Regions from separate parts of the Homo sapiens genome. Here region 1 is linked to region 2. The links are contacts of gene promoters, found by promoter capture Hi-C in blood cells and fetal thymus (Javierre and others, 2016). All regions are on one chromosome and are shown on one strand. Each heading gives the region's core, a stretch centred on a gene start or on the middle of the fragment in contact. The rest is flanking DNA. Distances are from core to core; before and after follow the strand shown.

The links. Contacts are between HindIII fragments. The CHiCAGO score rates a contact against its expected background, and 5 or more counts as called.
Region 1: the fragment with the promoter of FAM20B here is called in contact with the fragment with the promoter of PRRC2C in region 2 in 1 of 17 cell types (total CD4 T cells); the score reaches 8.1 in total CD4 T cells.

What each region holds. Positions count from the first base shown.
Region 1 is chr1:179,021,271-179,028,008 of GRCh38, forward strand. FAM20B (FAM20B glycosaminoglycan xylosylkinase) reads left to right here and starts at 4,624. Exons shown (of 8, transcript NM_014864.4): 1 at 4,624-4,828. RefSeq lists silencers at 4,441-4,630, 4,671-5,410. The HindIII fragment of the contact is 5,476 bases long and covers 613-6,088 here.
Region 2 is chr1:171,483,824-171,489,800 of GRCh38, forward strand. PRRC2C (proline rich coiled-coil 2C) reads left to right here and starts at 1,707. Exons shown (of 35, transcript NM_001387844.1): 1 at 1,707-1,912. RefSeq lists enhancers at 1,296-1,605, 1,512-2,260. The HindIII fragment of the contact is 3,004 bases long and covers 1,513-4,516 here.

The DNA.
Region 1 (6,738 bases), core at 3,374-5,873, 7.5 Mb after region 2:
ACTTCATGCATTGAATTGAGTCAATAAAAAACAGCTTCCATCACAACAAAAAAAAAATGTGTGTTAAATACCAATATGCCTGTGGTACCATCCTAGGCATATTACAAAAGTATTACCTTGTGGGAATTAGCAATCTGGAATTTGCAATTCTCTCTCCACCCAATCCCTTGAAAAGCCATATGTGGCATTAGAGAAATTCATAACAAACTGGAAAATGTCAAAGATGTGGCCCTGGACATTTACTGAAGCGTATATGCCACAACAAAGTGTACACTTTGGGGTAGTTAAACAAATTTCTATAGCCATACATGACAGTTAAGTGATACACAGCTTTGAGAGCCATAACTCCTCTGCATTTCTTACTAACTCTAGAAATCTAACATATCCATTAATGTATTTTTCTTTTTGCTTTTACTGTGCAGATTTAAAGAACAAAATAAATAGGTAAATATATTTTCAGAATAAAAAAGAAAACATCCCGTATTACTTTTGGGGGTGATGAAAATGTTCTAAAATTAGATTATGTTAGTGGTTGCTCAACTCTGTAAATATACTAAAAGGCACTGAGTATATTTTAAGCAAGTGAGTTTTGTGGTATGTATATCTCAATAAAGCTTTTCTTAAAAATAATATTGCTAGAGTGAAAAAATAACCGAAATATTCCCACCACTTTCAGAATCCACAGCCCGAATGTCTCAGCAGAGAAGCTGGGTGTGCTGTGTATGTATGTAGCTTATGATGCTGTCCCTGGGACGTGAGTTGTTTGCTCAGATGGCATTGACAGGGGTGCCACGTGATGGGGTAAGTGGGCAGTCCGTTGCTATAAGCAAGAGGCGGGCTGGGAGTAGCTCTGCAGATCTGGTGGCAAAATGAAAGAAAGGAGTTTTCCCTGTTAGGAAAGAAATGCAGAAGCAGCTGTCCACAGACAGCCCAATGCAGAGAACAAACCTGCCTGGGAAGCAGCTGAGGCAGGGCACATGCTCCTGGAAGGAAACAGAGAGATATGTGTGCTCCTTTACTCGCTAGCCTTTCCCGTCACCCTCTCCCCAGGCTCCTGGCACCTTGGAACAGCGTGAGCTTTCCTAGGGCTCCTCTCGACTTGCTTGATGTAGAATTAATTTAATTAGTTTCAGAGGGATCCATCATGGTGGCTGTGTTGCCTAGGTTAAAAGAAACTCTGTGTGTGTGTGTGCGCGCGCGCGTGTATGCATATATATTTTGCCTTCGTGTATGCAAAAGCACCTTGAGACAATATCCTCCTTCTAACTTGGGATTGCTGGACTGTTATTGGAGTCCTAGGGCTTGACAAATTGGCAGAGACTTGGAAATTCTGAAACAGTTTAAGGAAAATGCTTACAATGATGAAGGAACCAAGAAATAAGTCTCTGGGGCTCAATTCCCTGCTCTGTAGTACATGTTCTCAAACCTTCCTTTCAAGCATTGCATGGCTACCATGGGCCATGTGCAGTGTTAGTGCTACAGAAGACGCAGATGTCAATACAACCCGGGGAACGGGGTCAGACAGATCCCCAAAGACTTCAATACACCCCACCGCAAGACAGTTACAAATAAAGTGCTGGGTCTCAGAAGCCAAGGAAAGCATGTGCAGTTGTTGGGAAGGCTATGAAAGGCTTCATGAACAAGCAGCACTGAGAGCTGTATAACATTTTTACAGGTGGGAGTGAGGTGGATTTCCTGGAGGAAGAATCAATGTGATCACAACCATGAGGGCAGGGAAAGGACAGCAAGTGAGCCCCTTAGGTTGGAGGATAAGGAATTAGCAGAAAATGGTCCTGAAAAGGTGACTATGGCAGTAAATGCCAAGCACAGGTGTCCCTATTGAATTCCGCAGGCCACGGACAAGCCTCTGGTGGGTTCCACACTGGGGCTAATTCCAAGATTGGGGTTCCACATTGGGGCTAATATCCATCCTTCTGCTAAGGATGCCTACCACCCTTGGCTGGAGGGGGACAGCCAAATTCCTGCTCTGGTTTTAACTCAGTGAGCTTCAACACATCAATGTGGAGAAGGTACTTCGTATGAGGCACTCTACAAGTGGGAATAAAGATGAAATAGTGTATGTCTTTAAAAATCCTTGCAGTTTGGGAACAAGGAAGAAGGGCAAAGAGGAGATTAGACAACGACATGTAGAACCATACATCGTATGAGTGGTAAAAGGAGCATCACAAGAGTCTTGACAAAGTGCTCAGACCTCCTTAATTGGGGTTCCTGCCAGCTTCTCAAGAATGGGAACCAGGCTTTCTTCATCTCTGCATGGTCTGGTAGCTCAGTGCCTGGCACTTGGTAGACATTCATTAAATGAATGAATGTATGCATCAGTGAATGAATGAATAAACAAACAAATGAACAATTCTCCTGTCACGCAGGATCTGCTGAAGATGGCGGCTGTAAGTTCACAGAGCACTGCCTAACTTTGGTTCATATTGTTCCTCTCTTCTCCTACCTGTATTTTGCTCACCTCAATACCAGCCCACACTGTTTTCCTGGACTGTGATTCTTTCAGTGATCACAGAGTCTGTGCTGCATAATTTAAGTGTCCCTATTCCTTGCAGCTGCTTCCTGTGTGCTAGTCATGTAAACGCCCTTCTTAAATGATTGCATCCCTCACAATACTTAGAATATATTGACTGTTGATTGGTTGGAAAATAATCCCGTACAGGCGGAGGGGGCAGAAACTGACATCATGGAGTGTCAGGCACGGTGCTGGTGCTATGCATACACTCAACAAGGGCCTGGGTAATGCAACATGGAGAAGGGAAAACTGGGGGGCAGAACAATTTTGTCGTCTGAAAGCCTTTCACAGAGAGGCCCTGAACCCATAGCTCTCCTTCTCTGAGGACAGAAAAGGAGGAAGTGTGTCTGTCCTGCAGTATGTGGGATGGATAGATGGATGCGAAATTAAGCACTGAAGTGGGTTGCTTGGAGAGGCAATGACTGCCCCCTGCCCTCACCTGAAAATCCTTAAAGACAGAAGGGATCATCCGCCCAGGAAGCTGAGGCTGCAGGATAAGCTGGCCTTTTCCTGAACAGTGACAGTTGGAGCGTTCACCCTCACTGTCCTTGTCAGAGTTACAGGCAAGAAAGGAGAATCCTTTTGGATAAAGTGTCTTAAAGGAACTGTTGATTTACCCTTTTGCTTTATGGTCTCCTGATGTAGTGAGCAAGGTTCAGGGAGATTAGCTAACTGCAGGCAGACTGATCTTCCTGTGCAGAGAAATAAGGTAGATTCTCATTATCTTCCAGCTCATTTTCCCAAGAATTATGTATTCTCCGGCCAGAAAACGACCTCCAAACCTCCAAACCTTTTCAACTACACGCAGCAAAAAGCTAATACAATGCCTTCTGCATTTGACTGTACGTCTCCTGCAGTGATTAATGCTGCCTCCCTAACTACATTGTCCGGAGCAAGTGTCAAGCCCAATTATTTCTCTAGGATCTCCTGATAGTAAATGCTCAGCAAATATACAGACGAATAACACCTAATCATACACAATAATCTTAGAGTACTTTCCCCATACATTTCCTAACTTAATCCTTACAACAACCCTGTGAAGTTATTAACTCCCATTTTCCAGTTAAGGAAACTGATGCTCAGCAAAGTTAACTGGCACATCCAGTATCATACAGCCAGTAAGAAAGAATTCTGTTCAGTACGCCTTACTGATTAAATGAACTATGTGGCCTGAAGAAAAAGTGTCAGCTCAGTCTTTCCCCATCACGCATCTTATTCCATGGAGTAACCTGCATTATATTTCAGGGTCAGGCACACTAAGTTTGCGCTTTAGTATATGGTGAATAAATGGATGGACACAGTGGCGGCTCTGTATAAGTCAGCTGAAAGCAAACAAAGGGAAGGCAGAATCTTTCATTCACACGATTTATCCGCGCCCACTGGGTGCACTACGGTCGGGCATTGGCGACCCAGGAGCGACTGACCTGCCCTCATGGGGCTTACGGTCCTTAGCAAAAAACAGATGTAAAACAACTAATATTACAGTAAATGAATCATAATTTTGTGAGATGCTCCTGAAAGTATGTAGCAGGACGCTCCGCTCTGGTCCGAATGAAGAGCCATTTGCACTCAGTGTGGAAAGGCTAGCCTTTTTCTGGGCAAAAGAAGCGGGGGATACATTTAGATAGGCAGAAGTTCCGAGCAGAAGTCAAGGCAAATTAAAAAGGCAACAGGAGGAGGGAAAATGCTTCTCACAAACAGAACTCGACCTAGGGGACCGCAACTCTCCAGTCCTGCTGCTTGGCTGCCTACCTACCTAAGAAAAGCAGGAAAGAAAAAGAGAAGACGGGGTGGGGGATGGAGGACAAATACAGAAAAAGAAAAAAGAGCGAAGGAAGTGAGAAGTGAGAGGCCAGTTTATGTAAGCGGGCAGGGCGGCGCGGCCGGCAGGAGACCGGCGCCGGCGCCGAGGGAGTTAAGCGGACGGGCCCGGTATGGAAGAGGTTAAGGGGGGCAGTCCGGAGCGGGTCCGGTAGGGGCCGCCTACTGGGCGGGGGCGGGGCCGCGCCGAGCGAGCGCTGGGATTGGCCGTCGGGCAGGCGCTACGCTAGGACGGTACCAACAGCCGGGGGCCTCGGAGGCGGGGGGGTGGGTGTGGGACTGCCGCTCTGCGCGGCGAGAGGTGGCCTGGGAATGGCCGGGCCGGGGGTGGGCCGGAGCCGCTGTGGCGGCGGCGGCGGCTGGGGGCGGTGAGCGCGGCGTGGGGCTGCCCCTCCCCGGAGGCGGCGGGGGCGGCCGGGGCCGCGCCGCACCGCACCGCGCGGGCGGCCATGGAGCGAGCCTAGGGCCCGACAGGTGAGTGGCGCGGGGGCGGGGGAGGGCGCGCGACCCCCGCCCCCGGCGCGGCGGGCGGGAAAATGCGGACCGGCACGCGGGCGGGGCACGGTACGTAGCGCGCGCCGGGCTGGGGCCGCCTGGGGGCGGGGCGCCTCCCTGAGGGGCCGGGCACCGGGTGCCCTGAGCCGTCCCCGAGTGGCTGCGGGCGGGTCCCGGGCGAGGGCCCGAGGCTTCCTGGGAGACCCGCTCGGGCCGCGTGTCCCTGTGTGCGGTCGCGGCTGAAGGGACGCGGCCTCGGCCGCCACGTCCCTGGCCCACCTGAGGCGCGGGCCCACCTGGGGCCGCCTCAGGCTGCCAGAGGTCCTTCTAGTGACCGTCTCTCGTCCCCTTGCGCGGTCCCCAGAGGCGATTGGCCCCGGTGCCTCTCTTGTGTTCCCCGGAGCGCCCGTTGAGGCAGCCCAGGGAGCGCGCCCTCGCGGGGTCTTTGCTGGGCCCGCCTCGTGGCCGGGAAGCGCGAGTGACCTGCAGGCCGGAGGCGGAAGGCGGGGCAACCGTGCCCGGGGCCCGCGGTCTCCTGGGGTCCTGCGCCGGGCGCTCGCAGAAGGGCACAACTTAACGAATGCTGTGTTAGCCCTCAGTGGGCTGCGCTTGAGATTTCATTTCCGGGTGTGACGGCCCCGCGATTAAGAGCGGACCGATACGTTTCCCTTAATGATGAATGTGAATAGTTGTCGAGCTGCGTCCTTGATTGTGGGTTCTGATAAGAGATTCATTCTAATCTGACTTCTGTTAACCTGCCAGTCTCCGGATAAGAAGAGAAGGGGTAGAAGGATGGATTGGAGGGAAAGTAGGGGTAACAGGGCTTGGTTAGTCTTAATGGAATTATTAGTCCTTTTAAAGACCATACCATCATTGGGATGGATAAGGAGTTTCTAATTTGGGAAAATGAGAGTTGCTTGCTATTGCGACTTGGGTCTAGTGCCAGATATCAGCATCTTCCCCACCCAGCCAGCTTCCCTCTGGAGGTTTGATTTCTCACTTGGAAGGGAAGTAGGAATGTGGGGTTTTTTTTAGCCTTTAGCCTTTAAACTGTAGGACTTTATAAATCTATAATCTGGTACAAATTACTATTGCCATTTATTAGCCACGCCTATGTTTTTTGCGTTGTAAATTCTTGCAAAAATTTCACTGGCGTTGATTTCTAAAAATCTGGTTAGAGATCTCAGTGTTCTTATGTATTACAAACATTCCTTGAGTTTATGCAGGATCTTTGAGCTAAGCTTAGAGCACTTCCTCAAATATGATTCGTTATCACGACTGTCTGAGAAACTGAGGTACAAATGGTAAAGATGCTAAATTATTTGCCCAGACTCATAGCCAATCTCAGGGAGATTTAAAATCAATGTATTCTATTAATAACTTTTCTAAAGTTTGCAAAGATGTTGGACTTTGGCCTCTCGAACCGTACAATGGAATCAGTCAGCAGGAGTCCCTTTCCCATTTGAAATTACTTATCAAAGGAGAATACAAAGGCACACACAAGTATAATTCAGACTCTCAGCCTCACTCATGATAAAGTGCAGTGATAAATATGGATACAGGTAAAAGATGATCAAGACATCTTGGAGTTCACAGCGTTTCTTTTCTGTGTGGTGAAAATGTGACATTGGTATGCTCTATTCGTTTCTCTAGAACTGGTAGGACAGTAGCTATGTTTTGGTGAATGAATGGAAACTAGAAAACACATACACTGCTTTTCTTTTTGGTTCTTAAGATTAGAGAAAAAACACATCACTGCTTCTATCATCTTTATTTTTATAATCTTTTATATCATGGAAGTATTTTATGTTAAATTGATAATTCCTTGACTTTTAGTTCATTCCCTTGATTTCCATTTGTAGATTCCAGCCCTTTCACACAGCCTTAAA
Region 2 (5,977 bases), core at 457-2,956:
AAAGTGCTGGGATTACAGGCGTGAGCCACCGCGCCCGGCCATACGTGTCAGTCTTATGACCTTGGTTAATGTAATTTCATCTGATTGCTGAAGTTGTTCTCCATTGCTCAAGACAGATGATTTGGCTGGGCGTGGTGGCTCATGCCGGTAATTCCGGCACTTTGGGAGGCCAATGCGGGAGGCTTGCTTGAGCTCAGGAGTTCGAAACCAGCCCAGTCAACATAGCAAGACCTCGTCTCTACTGGCAAAAAAAAAAAAAAAAAAAAAAAAAAGCCAGGTTTTGTGGCAAGCACCTGTAGTCCCACCTACCTGGGAGGCTGAGACAGGTGGATTGCTTGAGCCTGGGAGGTTGAGGCTTCAGTGACCTGTGATTATGCCACTACACTCCAGCCTGGGCAGCAAAGTGAGACCCTGCCTCCAAAAAAACAAAGAAAGATGTTTCTGTGACCAGGACACTATAGACCAGATCCTAGAAGGTTGTAGAAATTCACTAAAGTAATGCTTCCTTGTCCTCTTGTGGATGATCAGTAGGCTTTCCCCTGGCAATGACCCTATATCAATAAAAAAACTTTTTCTTTTCTTCTTTTCTATTTTTTCGAGAAAGAGTCTCGCTGCAGCCTCAACCTCCTGTGCTCAAGTGATCCTTTTGCCTCCAGCCTCCCAGGTAGCTAGGACTATAAGCATGTGCCACTATGCCTAGCTAGCTTTTTTTCTTTTTAATTTTTTTGCAGAGGTAGGGTCTCACTATGTTGCCCAGATTGGTCTTGAACTCCTGGTCTCAAGCAATCCTTTTGCCTTGACCTACCAAAGTATTAGTATTACAGGCATGAGCCACCAAGCAAGTCCAGACTTTTCTACTTCAAATTAATATTAGTGGGGAGGGAGGTGTTCATAATTTACCTCTCTTTATTATTTCATTTATTCTAACATTGCTACAGTGACAATTCCATGGACATACACCAGCTACTGGCGGGGAAGATCGTTCAGACCAGAAGTGGTAAGAAATCCTTGAATTTTAAATATGTCATAGGTAGTTCACAAAGAGGACAAAAGATACCATTTACTAAACATTCGCCATCTGTTCTGACATAATATTATCATCATTGTAGTCTCCCACTTCCAGATACACTCATCTGCCTATGTTACACTTGCCTAGTAAAAGCCAGCATGGGTGAATCTTACTATTCAACGGAGCTGAACACTGTGATGGAGAGATCATATAAATAAACTGAATGGCTTATCTCACATCCATAATTAGAAACTTAAAAAGTGCTCTCAGCAGCCCATGCTACTCTGTTCCTCACACTAGTTTTACTTTCACTCTCTGTGATAACTTTTCAATACACCAAGACTTCTCAGCTTGCCCCAAATTCACTGAGACATACTGGCGAACTGCTGGTTCAACCATTTACACATCCACCCACCAGACATAAGAGTGCTCATTTCACTGAGGCTTATTATCAACTTGTAAACGTGGTCAATTCAAGACTTCTTAGAAAGGTCTCAGGTCCAAGCTTTGTCCTGAAAAGATAATTCTGATTGCAGAAACTCCCTCCGTCCAGCAGGAAGCGCCAGCACCCTCTGTCGGGGTTGGGCCGCCACGGAGGCTTCACGTGATCCGGCCGTCTCTGCGCAGGAGTGTGGTCTTGCGGAGATTTGACCTACGTACTTAGCGTCATGACGTAGTACGTAGGGGCTGGCTAGCCGCCATCTTGCTTCTTTTTCTCGCTCGCTCGCTCCCCCTCGGAAAGCTGCGAAAGTGCTTTGGCGGTTTGTCCATCCGCAGCTTCGGCTTTTCCAGTCTGGTGGCCCTTCCGGCCACCCCTTTAACCCCAGCTTTCCCTCCCCCTTCTTTCGATCAGAGATCGGCGGAGACCCTCGAAGTGCGCAAACTTGACACTCACCCTGACCGGTAAGGAAAGCGAGGGTGTGGGGGCCGCGATCAAAGAGGGCCCCATCGGGAACGGCCAGAGTGCGGCCTGGGGCGTGGGAGCGCACCCAGACCCTGGCGCCCGGAGGCTAGGGGGCCGCGTGGAGAGGGCCTTGGGTCCGGGCATTTCCCTTCTGTTTGGTTACCATCATCTCTGTGTCTGGGGAAGTCGGCCTCCAGCTTGGGGAGCGGGAAACCGGAGTCAGACCCGCCCCATGTGGTCTGCAGCGGGAGTTCTGGACCGGTCTGTCTTGCTCCCACCTAGACCCCAGTCCTGGCCCTGCGAGGGGATTACGCATGTTGCCGGGTAAGCGAAGGGGGTTTCCGTCTTCCTGGACTGGCGGACGTGAAGTCTTTTTTTTTTTTTTTTTTTTTTAGTGTCGGGTATGCGTTTCCCCAAACAACTGAAGGACTCAGCCGGGGCTTTCACTGTCTACCTCTTCCTGTGTAGTGAGGGTGGGACTTGCAATGAGCAATGTATGGGAGGGTCTGGTTTAAAGACCTGGTTAGATGAGAGGCTCTTCGGGGAATCAAGACCAACCCTACTTCCGCTAGGGAAGTGCTGCCCAACTCCGGAGGAGGATTTGGGTAGTCTTTTCACACTCTAGGCCGCTCCATCCTCTAACTTGCGTGGTGAATCTCGGTAGCTCCCTGTCTTTGAGATAGCGTTGATATTGGTGGTGTCAGGGTAAAGGCCCCGTTTTAGGACTGAAGAAAAGGGCATGGGGCCACTATAGAGACATTGATAGAGTCTTCCTTCCTTTGCATGAGAGGAGTACCTTTAATTTAAAGGGATGTATGTGTGTTTTGACATTATTTGGGATCTTTTGAGGGTCTGACATGCCTGATGTTTGCTGGCTTATAAAGCTACCTGGATTTCCGCATTGGCTGGTTTTCAGCCTGGGTTCATAGATTCATACCTCGTTAGAGTACTTAGAATTGTACAGTAGGCGGCTCTGCTGTAAGATTTTCATTTGGAATGCACCAGAAGAATCGGAGGATTTTTTGATTGTTGAGTACTTAATAGCTTACTCCTGCAAATAAAAATAATAGGGTGATACTAAGCACCTACCAAGCCTAACCCCACCATTTTTCAAAACTAGATTTCACCTCCCATATTGGTAATTAAGATGCTGCTTTGACTGGAGCCATTTTTAGGTGTGTGTCACAGATGCACTGCAGCATCTTTTCTGGCTCACCCCAAATGCATTGATCCCCTAAAAAATTAGGAATAAATTGAACTTGAATTTTGTCTTTAGCATGTAGTCAAATAGTAATTCTCTCCTTTTCTGTAAGTGGATTTTCAGAATATAGCCTTTTTAAGTGATTGTGTTTGCTCTGCTTAGCTTATGTGTGGCTGTTCTCCATTAGGTGACCTTTTGCTATACACTGAGCACAGTAATAAGTCCTTTTCATACATTTTTTTTTTAATCTCCACAACAGACCTTTGAGAAAAGTGCTATTAAGATCATCCCCATTTTACAGATGAGGAAATGAAATCTGAGAGAGTAGTCTGACCAAGGTCACATAGCAGTTATTGGTGGTATTGTGTAGGTTCAATTCCATACTGTCTGAACCCAAAGGGGATGCTCTAAACCTTCAACCTGCTTTTTAAATTATAAACTACAGTAACTAAATAAGATAAAGCATTATTAACTAGTAGTTTTTCTTTAGCTTGACTAGTATATGAATATTGTTGCATGCTAAGGTTAAAGTTTTGAAAGTTGTAAAAATGGAATATATCCACTTTGGACTTGGGGTAGAGGCTAATTTTTTTGTGTCCTTTTCTATTTGAGTGCTTAGAGATAACTTAAAACTAACTCTACCATGTCGTAGATATAATTTTTAAATTTAGGCGTCTGATCTATATTATTGGTAGAATATTCCCTCATCTGTAAAATGGTGATGATAATAGGACTTCCCTCAGAGGCTTTTATAGGAGTAAAAAAAGATAATGGATAATGTATGTAAAGGGCTTATTACTATGCTTAGTGCATAGTAAAAGGTCAACTAATAGTGGAGGGAGAATGGTAGGATATTGGTAGAAGAAAATACTCTCTTCCAAGCAATAAATAATCTGTAAATTCTCAGGGTGATGTATATATTTCTTTAGGTACATAAGAAAATTTCACCTCCCCTTATCCCTGATATGTCTACTTATATGCAGGATTTTGCTTCTTAGCGATTTCTTTATGCTCTACAGTAAATATCCCTGGGATGAGTATCTTGTTCATAGCTGAAAATGCAGAAGTTCTGGCTCATTCCAGCCCCCTCTCTTCTTCTTACCCCCACCCCACCCTCTTTAGTGATAAAATGTCTTTGAAGATTATATTATATCCCTGTCTGCCTCCAAGTGCCACCCCTAAACACTACTTCAGTTTGTTAGTTAGGTAACTTGTGTTTTGGATGCTATTTATGTCATATTTGTAAATGACAAGAATTGATCATTGGTAAAATGTTACATAAGTTAGTACAGAATTGTATTCTTACAGTGAAGGACATACAAAAATTGTGTCTGAGTTATGACACACTTTCATTTCGGTAAATCGTGATTTTGTCACCTTATGAATAGGACAACACAATGAAAGCTTATCTCAGTCTATGTTAATTGTTGCTTACAAGTCTGAGAGTTACTGTGTTAGTTTTATGAGTAATAACATTTTAAATTCCTCGCTAATCTCATCGATGCATGAGCCAGAACACCTTTGTGGATAAAAGCGTTCTATAGAGAGGGTAACTTTAGTAAATTTTCTATTTAAGAGACAGACCTAACTCTGTTGCCCTGGCTGGCCTCCAACTCCTGGGCTCAAGAGAATCTCCTGCCTCAGCCTCCCAGGTAGCTGGGACTAGAAGTGCCTACCATTGCTCCCAGCATTGCCAGTTACATTTCTAGTCCTTATTTTCCTCCAGATTATCAGAAAGCATGTTTTGGGGCCTGTGACTACATGTATTTGCTGGCAAATCCAGTCAAACAAGGACTGTTACTTAGTTTCAACCGGAAATTTTTATCTGATTGGCAGACATGATTAACTAGACTCTTAGACTGTTAACTAAGAGTCTGAACACAAGATTGTAATGAAATTATTATGTGAATTATAGTCAGTGTGATATACTCATCCCTGTGTGGTGCTGCTATGTGCTCAACATTAAGGGAAGATGGAATATCATTTGAGGAGCACGTCTAGTATTAAAAAAACTATTGGGTATTATGTATGTAGCATACTACATAGCAATATGTACTACATACTATCTGGTAATTTTTCTGTTTTCTGTGTTCTAATACTAGTTTGTTTTCCTCTACTAGACTGTTTCCATGTCCTCATCACCTTGTATGGTGGTTGGCGTATACCTAGAGTTTATATGTTATTGAATGAATGAGGGTGAGAAACACAAAAGAATAGACCCACAAGATTAACTGATAAGTATATTATTGGAGCAAAAGAAAATGCTGTCAGGTTTTTTTTCCTTTACCTCTAAGAATAGTATCACAGGTAACCTTCGAAGAGTTTGTGTTAAATAATATGCATTGTGAGATTTATTTACATCTGATTTTTAAAATTTTTAGCTTATTCAACAAAGATTGAAGATTCTTTTAATTTTGTAAGGCCCAGTGAATCAGAGCAATATGGCATTTGGTCCACTCCCAAGGTGTTCACAGCCTTAAGGATTAATGTTAAAAGTTATCTTGTAGTCTTTGGATTCATGCCAGAAGATAAAAAGGTGTATAAGAAGGTAAGGGAAATTTGGTACAGAAAATTACAGATAGTACAGATTGAGTTCCTAGTTGATTATAAGTGAAGCTGTGATGTCTAAGAAAAATCAAGAATAATTGTGATTATTAATATTTCTTGAGCACTTACTATGCCATGTTACTAAACTAAGACTATTTTTTGAATGATCTATTTAAATCCATATTGCAGAAAGCCTAAAAGGAAGAGATTTAAGTAATTTGCTCAAAGTTACTTAGCTTTTAAGTGGTAGAAATGGCATTTGAATTATTGATCCAGAGCCTGAGTGCCTAACTCAACTACATGGGTTTCCTAGTGG